Regions from separate parts of the Homo sapiens genome. Here all the other regions are linked to region 2. Evidence: promoter capture Hi-C in 16 types of primary human blood cells and fetal thymus (Javierre and others, 2016). All regions are on one chromosome and are shown on one strand. The core of a region is centred on a gene start or on the middle of the fragment in contact, and the rest is flanking DNA. Distances in the headings are between cores, read along the strand shown.

Region 1 (3,043 bases), core at 405-2,904, 1.2 Mb after region 2:
CATTCAACTAGTGCCTGTTCTTTCTCTCTACTTGTCCCCACCCCCAGTGTTTCCTGTTTGTCCAACAATGAGGAGGCCAGCGTAAGGCCACACTGCTAGCTCATGCAGGATGCATAGCCCCTGAGTAAACCATAACAGAGCCATAAGCCTGGTATTTAATCACAGGAACATCAGCAAAAGGAACTGCTTAATTGTTTTTTATTTTCCCTTCTTTCACCTGTTGGAAATGACTGCGTGCTCTGTAGATCCAAAACAATTGCATGGATGTCCACCGAGGGGATATGTGTTTCTTTCAGGGCTCAAAGTATTTTCACGTGTTTCATCAAACTCCTCTACCAGCCAAAAGCATTCCACAGAACTTGAGAAATTCCAGAGTAGTCAGGAGCCAGCTCCTCATCACTTTGGAATAGCAACATATTTTAAAGTTAACAAGGAAAAAATATTGAGTCAAAACACGTTAGACCTGGGCCTGCCTTCTTCAGAAAATGACTCACAGAATCCAAGTAGTGGCAAAGTCATTCTTTGTCTTTGGGTCCCTGGAAATCATGAGGATTCCATCCAGACTTCTTATCTGGCGCACATAAAAGGAAATGCAGTCTGTTGTAGCAAGATGAACACGGGCTTTGGAATCAGATGAAGCTGGGACTGAGTCCCAGCTCCACCAGTCACTAGTTATGTGACCTCTGACAAGATATTTAATCTCAATAAGTCGTAGTTTCTGCCTTTGTAAATAGTAAACAGCAATACTTACCTTCCAGGATTAAGAGAGAATACATCGATTGCATTCAGTGTAAGACCCACTGTATTGTGAGTGCCCAAATCATGGAATCCATTATGATTGATCTTTCTGAAGTTATTAATGTTCTTTCTTTGCATGGAAACCAGGAAACCTTGTTTACTTTTCAAGCACCATCACAATAACAGATGTGTCATCTTATTTTTCTCCAGGTTGGTTTCATCGACTACATTGTCCATCCATTGTGGGAGACATGGGCAGATTTGGTACAGCCTGATGCTCAGGACATTCTCGATACCTTAGAAGATAACAGGAACTGGTATCAGAGCATGATACCTCAAAGTCCCTCACCACCACTGGACGAGCAGAACAGGGACTGCCAGGGTCTGATGGAGAAGTTTCAGTTTGAACTGACTCTCGATGAGGAAGATTCTGAAGGACCTGAGAAGGAGGGAGAGGGACACAGCTATTTCAGCAGCACAAAGACGCTTTGTGTGATTGATCCAGAAAACAGAGATTCCCTGGGAGAGACTGACATAGACATTGCAACAGAAGACAAGTCCCCCGTGGATACATAATCCCCCTCTCCCTGTGGAGATGAACATTCTATCCTTGATGAGCATGCCAGCTATGTGGTAGGGCCAGCCCACCATGGGGGCCAAGACCTGCACAGGACAAGGGCCACCTGGCCTTTCAGTTACTTGAGTTTGGAGTCAGAAAGCAAGACCAGGAAGCAAATAGCAGCTCAGGAAATCCCACGGTTGACTTGCCTTGATGGCAAGCTTGGTGGAGAGGGCTGAAGCTGTTGCTGGGGGCCGATTCTGATCAAGACACATGGCTTGAAAATGGAAGACACAAAACTGAGAGATCATTCTGCACTAAGTTTCGGGAACTTATCCCCGACAGTGACTGAACTCACTGACTAATAACTTCATTTATGAATCTTCTCACTTGTCCCTTTGTCTGCCAACCTGTGTGCCTTTTTTGTAAAACATTTTCATGTCTTTAAAATGCCTGTTGAATACCTGGAGTTTAGTATCAACTTCTACACAGATAAGCTTTCAAAGTTGACAAACTTTTTTGACTCTTTCTGGAAAAGGGAAAGAAAATAGTCTTCCTTCTTTCTTGGGCAATATCCTTCACTTTACTACAGTTACTTTTGCAAACAGACAGAAAGGATACACTTCTAACCACATTTTACTTCCTTCCCCTGTTGTCCAGTCCAACTCCACAGTCACTCTTAAAACTTCTCTCTGTTTGCCTGCCTCCAACAGTACTTTTAACTTTTTGCTGTAAACAGAATAAAATTGAACAAATTAGGGGGTAGAAAGGAGCAGTGGTGTCGTTCACCGTGAGAGTCTGCATAGAACTCAGCAGTGTGCCCTGCTGTGTCTTGGACCCTGCCCCCCACAGGAGTTGTACAGTCCCTGGCCCTGTTCCCTACCTCCTCTCTTCACCCCGTTAGGCTGTTTTCAATGTAATGCTGCCGTCCTTCTCTTGCACTGCCTTCTGCGCTAACACCTCCATTCCTGTTTATAACCGTGTATTTATTACTTAATGTATATAATGTAATGTTTTGTAAGTTATTAATTTATATATCTAACATTGCCTGCCAATGGTGGTGTTAAATTTGTGTAGAAAACTCTGCCTAAGAGTTACGACTTTTTCTTGTAATGTTTTGTATTGTGTATTATATAACCCAAACGTCACTTAGTAGAGACATATGGCCCCCTTGGCAGAGAGGACAGGGGTGGGCTTTTGTTCAAAGGGTCTGCCCTTTCCCTGCCTGAGTTGCTACTTCTGCACAACCCCTTTATGAACCAGTTTTGGAAACAATATTCTCACATTAGATACTAAATGGTTTATACTGAGCTTTTACTTTTGTATAGCTTGATAGGGGCAGGGGGCAATGGGATGTAGTTTTTACCCAGGTTCTATCCAAATCTATGTGGGCATGAGTTGGGTTATAACTGGATCCTACTATCATTGTGGCTTTGGTTCAAAAGGAAACACTACATTTGCTCACAGATGATTCTTCTGAATGCTCCCGAACTACTGACTTTGAAGAGGTAGCCTCCTGCCTGCCATTAAGCAGGAATGTCATGTTCCAGTTCATTACAAAAGAAAACAATAAAACAATGTGAATTTTTATAATAAAATGTGAACTGATGTAGCAAATTACGCAAATGTGAAGCCTCTTCTGATAACACTTGTTAGGCCTCTTACTGATGTCAGTTTCAGTTTGTAAAATATGTTTCATGCTTTCAGTTCAGCATTGTGACTCAGTAATTACAGAAAATGGCACAA
Region 2 (3,183 bases), core at 652-3,151:
CCTTGGCCTCCCAAAGTGCTGGGATTACGGGTGTGAGCCACAGCGCCCGGCCACACTGAGACATTTTAGAGGGAGATCAGTCTATGGAACAAATGCTGGCCTGGGGCTGGTGGCCTGGGTGTGCTGTCTGGCCAATTTTGTGCGTGGAGTAAGCAGTGGGGAGAGGCGCTGGGTGTCAGGAAACTATGCCAGGCCCTGCCCTCCACCAACCCCAATCAAAGAGCTGAGAGGGGGTTCTTCTCCACACCATCCCACTACTTGTGTCCCTCACCTTCTCTGAGTCCTGGGTATTGGTGCTGGGAACTCTGCAACAGATTTCCTGAAGGCAGGTGGCCTGTGGAAGGAAGGCAGAGGAGGGGGCCTGCAGAATGCAAAGGTGTACGGAAGGCATCTCTGCGCCCCTGCTGAAGATTTTTCACTTTATCCTGAAGGGAAGACAATATCTGAGGCCGGGAAATAATAAATATTGATTTTCACTTTATCAGTATTCCTGGCAGCTGCACGGAAAATGGAATGGCACAGAAACTGGAGTCTTATGGGCACTTATCCCACTAGTTGGGGTGGGAAATTAAAGGCTGTGTGTAAGGTGGGCACAGATCTAACAGAATGTGGATTGGGATATGCAGGGGAGGGTGGAGTGGGGGAAGACAGACTCCATTTGGACTTGGTGAGTTATAGGTGCAGCACCAGCATAATGCGCATGGAAGTCCTGGAATCATTTACCAAGAAGGTCCTGAACACAGGTGAGGGACATCCCCTTCTTCCCTGTTCCCTAAGGCGCCTAGACTTTGGAGTCAGTCAGTCTTGGGTTCCAGCCTCCCGCTAGGACGCAATTTCTTGAGAGCAGGATTCGATCTGTTGTTCACGGCTAGATCCTAAGCGCCTAGAATAGTTTCTGGCACACAGTAGGCACTCAATAAACATTTGCAGAATGAATCAATGAATGAATGGTCACGCTCCATTCCTCGGCTGTAAACACAATGAAATCACCTAGCCGCAAACTTGGCGCACAGTAGGCGCTCAACAAGTTGTATTTTTCCCTTCCCTTGCAGTAGACCGCGGTCCCCAGGCGACCGCGAAAGAAAAAAAGGGGTTTCTCTACCTCGCGTGGTCTGCACCTCGCTTCGCCCCCGCAGCCCTCGCTGGGTCGCAGGGAGCACGTGGGCCAGGCAGGCTGGGTGGGAGTGGAGTGGAGTGGAGGGGAGGGGGCGGCGGCCAGCGGCTCGCGCGGAGCCGGTCTCCCGGGCTTACGTAAGGCGCGAGTCCCGCGCGGCCGGCCGGGGCTCCGCGACTGGGCGGGCGGAGGCGGCGCCGCCCTGCAGGATCCGGGCTGGAAGCCTCTCGGAGTGCTGCCTCCAGCCAAGGTGTGTGTTTATTTGATTGCTTTTGGTGGCGAGGCGCGGGGCTCGGGCTCGTCGCGCGCCCCATGGCCGGGGAGCGCATCCGCCAACCCCGGGCGGAGGTGGGCCCCTCCGAGCGCGCGCGGGCGGCGGGCAGCGGCGGCAGCTGAGACTCCGGGGGATGTGACAGCCGCCGGGGAGGGGACGAGACGCAGACCACACGTTGCCCACGTGCGAGGACCGGGCAGGGGCTCAGCCCCTAGGCCGCCCGGTGCGTGGGGCGGCGGGGGCTGGCTTTGAGTCACCCCCGCTTGTGCCAGCTTCCCCGGCTCGGCGGAGACTGGCTTGGGGATGCCTGGCCGCCCGGCCCCCTTCTCGGACGCGGCGTGGGGAGCGAGCTGGAGTTAAGGATGAAGGTGGGACTGGCCGGGCCGACCTCTGACCCCTGGAGGCCGAGTCGGCAGGGCGGGGCACGGCGCGCTTCAGCAGCTTTGCGTGGGGGCGAGGAGGTGGAGGAGGGCGAGGAGGTGGAGAAGGGCGGGGAGGTGTAGCGTGGCGCTCAGTCCGCCTGCTACTCGGTCCCGGCGCTGGGCTGAGGGGAGGGGTTGTCTTAAAAGTCTCTCCTTCCCCCTGTAGGGGCGGCCGGCGAGTCCCAGTGAGAGCGGAGGGTGCCAGAGGTAGGGGGCCGAGAAACAAAGTTCCCGGGGCTTCCTCCGGGGCCGCGGTCGGGGCTGCGCGTTTGACCGCCCCCCTCCTCGCGAAGGCAATGGCTTCCAAACTCCTGCGCGCGGTCATCCTCGGGCCGCCCGGCTCGGGCAAGGGCACCGTGTGCCAGAGGATCGCCCAGAACTTTGGTCTCCAGCATCTCTCCAGCGGCCACTTCTTGCGGGAGAACATCAAGGCCAGCACCGGTGAGGGGCTGCGGGGACGAGGGCCGGGGGCGAGCCGCGTTGGGCTGGGGTGAGGCCCTGGAGGGACTGGGGCTCCCGGATCACGGCGCCCTTCCCCCGCCCGCGTGTGGTCGTGCAGGCTCGTACGTGCCGGGGCGCATGCAGCTGGCGGCCGCGCGGCTTAACCGCGCCTGGGGAGGAGGCCGAGGCTCCAGGGGCGGCCGGTGGGAGGTGCCCACGGCTCCTCTCCACCGCTCCTCCTGTCGCGAGGAATAGCCCGAGCCACCCGGCCGAGGGAACGAGAACTAGGCAGGGAAAACCCGGAGCTTCCGTCTCACGCTGCCCTCCTTAAGGCAGAGCCGTCCCCGTACCCCTTAGCCCTGGCCCCCTCCCCCGAGTCCCTAGAGAGCCGCGCGCCCCCTCCCGCGGGAGCCCAGAGGCGGAGCGCCGCCCACCTGTGGCAGTCGGGCGGGGCCGCGCGCCGGGGAACCTGTGGCGCCGGGGGGCTCGCAGCCTCGCGCCTCTCCAGCCCCTCCACGCAGCCTCGGGCCTCGGGGCAGAGCCCTGGGTGGCTTTGAAAGGCCTGTCTGTTCGTTGTCGCCTTCTAAGGTAAACTCTCCCCAGCAACTCCCCCCCCTCCCGAAGCCGCCGGGCCTGGCCGTCAGGAGACTCGGAGGAGACTCGTTCTGATAAATTACATTTTGTAATGCAGCTTTCCTGGAAATGGCTTCTTGAGCTGCCTCCCTTGGCATGAGATGCCTCCTTTGGCTGGCGTGGTGAACTTGGGGATATATAGATCGCCTGATTTCTTAGTCTGACGGGGTTGAGTGCGTCCCTTTCCCCCTCTCCTCCCACTCCACGTTCACACCAGTTCCGAAAGAATTGGCGTTAAAAGGCGAGAGGTAGCGGTTGTGCTGCTGCGAGGCTCTTAACCCTTCTGGGATGGAGATGCT
Region 3 (2,986 bases), core at 300-2,799, 1.2 Mb after region 2:
TAACCGATTTGTCCAAGTCCTTTACCTACTAAATGTCAAGACATAGAATCAAATCTTGTTCTCTTTGCTCAAAAGTTGAGCAAAGTTGTTCTCTTTGCTCAAAAGTTGAGTTAAAAATAAAAGTTAAAGGGAAATCCACAATTTATTATATTCTCGTATAACTTGTTAACAAAACATATCATCACAGAATTTTAAAGCTAGAAATCAGCGAAGTCTTGTTTTTCAGACCTCAGTTTAGATATCACCTCTTAGAAAGACCTTCTTTTATTACCCTAATTCAGCTGCTTGTTGGTTTTGCAATTTACTATCACAATTTATGGTTTTTGGTTTTGATCATGGAACTTGGTTTTTACTGATATCTTTCATTAGACTGTAAAGTTACTGAAGACATGAATTGTGTCTACCATGTTCACTAGTGAAGCCCCAGCAGTTACACTAGCTGTAGACACATGGTAGGCATTAGAATAAATATTTTTTGATCAATTGCATGAGGTTCAGAAACTTAATCTAATTTGTCCAAGACCAAGTATTTGTTAGTGATAAATCCATTAGAACCCTGGAATCCTGTTTCCTGTTGTGCGGCAATGGCTACATGTAGGGGCCTGCCATGCCTAATTCCAGCTTTCTAATTGTTAGGTTGCATGAGAAACCCTCATCTGGTTCCCAATGACCCCCAAAGTACCCTGAAAAAAGGGAAAGCTTATTCCTACCCTTCTCTTTCATCCAGAGTCAGATAACAAAGAACAAAGTTGTCAGGGACCAGTGCTTTCTTCCTGTGAGCAGAAATGTGAAGCATGGTTTTGGTTGGGGTTTTTGTTTGTTCGGTTGGCTTTTGGTTCAGTTTTGCAATATTTGGCTTACTATTCTCTCAAAAAGTCTGCATCCTGTGGACAAGAATCTAAGCCCTTTGGAGACTAGCAATGGCTATTCCACACTCTCTGGGGAGCCTATTTATGAGCACATGTGTTTGTAATTCAGCCACTCTCCATATCTGTTGGAGAATAGCAGCCTAATTATCTGCCATCATTTGGTTATGTTTTTCATTCCTGGCATATTGGTGACACTCCTCTCACCTGAGCCACATATTCAATTAATTCATATGTGTTACCACATTGATCTTAACTGTGAAAATCTGAGCAAAATGCATACTTGGTGCAGTTATCCTCATGTCAGGTAGTCTGTGGTCAGTCACAGCTTTTAGTCAATAGATAAAAAGTTGTAAAGTGTCTTAATTTGAGAAAATTGGCTAAACCAAAGAAGCATGAATGGATAGTTACCAACAGCTGGATTTCTCCAAATAGACTCTTTTTTTACGGTTTAACTTAAGCATAAGACCATTTTGAGTTATGGTGCTTTTCATTTGACTTGCTTCATCTATCTTTCTGGCAATTCTTGTTTACGCTCCTTAGACTGGTGAATAATCTAAATGTCAACCAGAGAGTCTGAACTTCTATGAGTAACTCATGTGTCACATAATCTATGTGACATAGTAGTGCATCACACCTGCAGCAGCATGCTATGGGAATTCTGTAATTAATTATATATGCTGCTGTCAACAATGAAAAGAAGGTGTTCAAGTATCAAAGAACCAACTGAAACTTCCACCCAAAAGCAAAGCCAAAGTGAGAAAGGTACCATGAGCTCAGATTATTTTGAAATTTACAGATAAAACCTAGCTTCAAGTACAAATCCTGTGGAAGAAAGAGCACACACTTGGTCTCAGACACCTTGGCAGCCACTTCACATATGTTATTCCTAATCTTCCCATTTCAAAGATAGAAAATTCTAGTCTCTAAGAGACTCAATGACTTGCTAAGTTTCTCAGACTAAGTTACAGTACATATTTTATTTCCAGACTCAGTTGAATTCTCAGATGCTCCTATGTCATATTTTATTTCCGGACTCAGTTGAATCCTCAGATGCTCCTATATCATGCTGTTATGACGTTGGGTTAGCTGAGGTCACTGGTAAGGCAAACCTGCAACCAGCACTCCCTCTACTTCATGTTTGCAGTAGAAGCTGCCTCTATAAACCTTCCGTGAACCTAACAAACCTATGCATCTTGAGGTGCATTGTTGTTCAAAGCATCTCTCCATCTCTTCTAAATTATGATAGCTAATAATGGAAAACACAAAATACATAACAAGCCCAACTACCTTTTTTAATAGGATAAAATTGCATAAGAAATAGCTGTCTATGAAATTTATGTCTATTTTATGTTATGAAACTATTTTCATCTTTTATAGTTTTAGTTAATAGTTTATGTGTGCAAACCTCCAACCTGTTACAAATTTTCCTCAATTTGCCGGTGCATACTCTAGCTTAGGGATTACTGAAATATCAAAACAGATAATAATATATATGCTTTCAGGGAAGGAAAGGATAGATCTATGTAGTCCAAAGCTTTCTTTTATTTTTTTGATAGGCCCTAGAGTTGATCTTGAAAATTGCCAGATTAATAGGCTGTCCCAGCCCTGAGAAATCGCTAATCTAGAAGTGGCAATTCCCAAGGCAGGTTTTGAAGCATTCCATTGTCTTTTACCTCAAGGGATGTATGAAAGTCACTAGCTGAAATCAATACAATTAATAATAAATACAATGTATTCTACATGGTATTTTTAAGGGGTAGAGTAATAATCTCAAAAACAAGCTATGATAGATTTTTGTAGCTGCAAAAAATATTAGAAACTTCAATAAGGCAGGATTTAAAACAACCTAAGAGGTACTATAGACTGAAAATGGAATTAACTTCTTAAAGAGAATCATGACCAATACGTAAGGGTTATGAAAAGAAAGTATAATATTTGAGTGGTAGTTTCCCTGTTCTGTGTAACTACTTTCATGTCAGATATGAAGGTCCTAAAACATAGGTGTTATTTTTCACTAGTCAGGAAAGGACACTAGACTGGATGGTCTGTGGGTCTGATCCACAGTAAGTGTTCTGATTGCTGAAAAATACTATAAGTTGTAGAGCTTCTAGCTGCGA

Evidence for each region. The method cuts DNA at HindIII sites, captures the fragments that hold promoters and counts their contacts. A CHiCAGO score of 5 or more calls a contact.
Region 1: a fragment that was not itself captured here is called in contact with the fragment with the promoter of AK4 in region 2 in 1 of 17 cell types (M0 macrophages); the score reaches 5.4 in M0 macrophages.
Region 3: a contact is called between a fragment that was not itself captured here and the fragment with the promoter of AK4 in region 2, in 1 of 17 cell types (M0 macrophages). The highest score is 5.3, in M0 macrophages.

Annotation. Positions count from the first base shown.
Region 1 is chr1:66,371,365-66,374,407 of GRCh38, forward strand. It overlaps PDE4B (phosphodiesterase 4B), which reads left to right. Exons shown (of 17, transcript NM_002600.4): 17 at 949-3,043. The coding sequence ends at 1,314. Among named protein-coding and RNA genes, the nearest start is that of SGIP1, 160 kb to the right of the region's middle. RefSeq lists enhancers at 1,457-1,546, 1,917-1,966, 2,913-3,043. The HindIII fragment of the contact is 276 bases long and covers 1,517-1,792 here.
Region 2 is chr1:65,146,302-65,149,484 of GRCh38, forward strand. It overlaps AK4 (adenylate kinase 4), which reads left to right and starts at 1,902. Exons shown (of 5, transcript NM_013410.4): 1 at 1,902-2,251. The coding sequence starts at 2,107. RefSeq lists silencers at 1,069-1,308, 1,319-1,818, 2,199-2,498, 2,559-2,838 and enhancers at 2,432-3,150, 3,151-3,183. The HindIII fragment of the contact is 4,960 bases long and covers 1-3,183 here.
Region 3 is chr1:66,345,140-66,348,125 of GRCh38, forward strand. All of the region lies in intron 8 of PDE4B (phosphodiesterase 4B), which reads left to right. Among named protein-coding and RNA genes, the nearest start is that of SGIP1, 190 kb to the right of the region's middle. The HindIII fragment of the contact is 1,704 bases long and covers 698-2,401 here.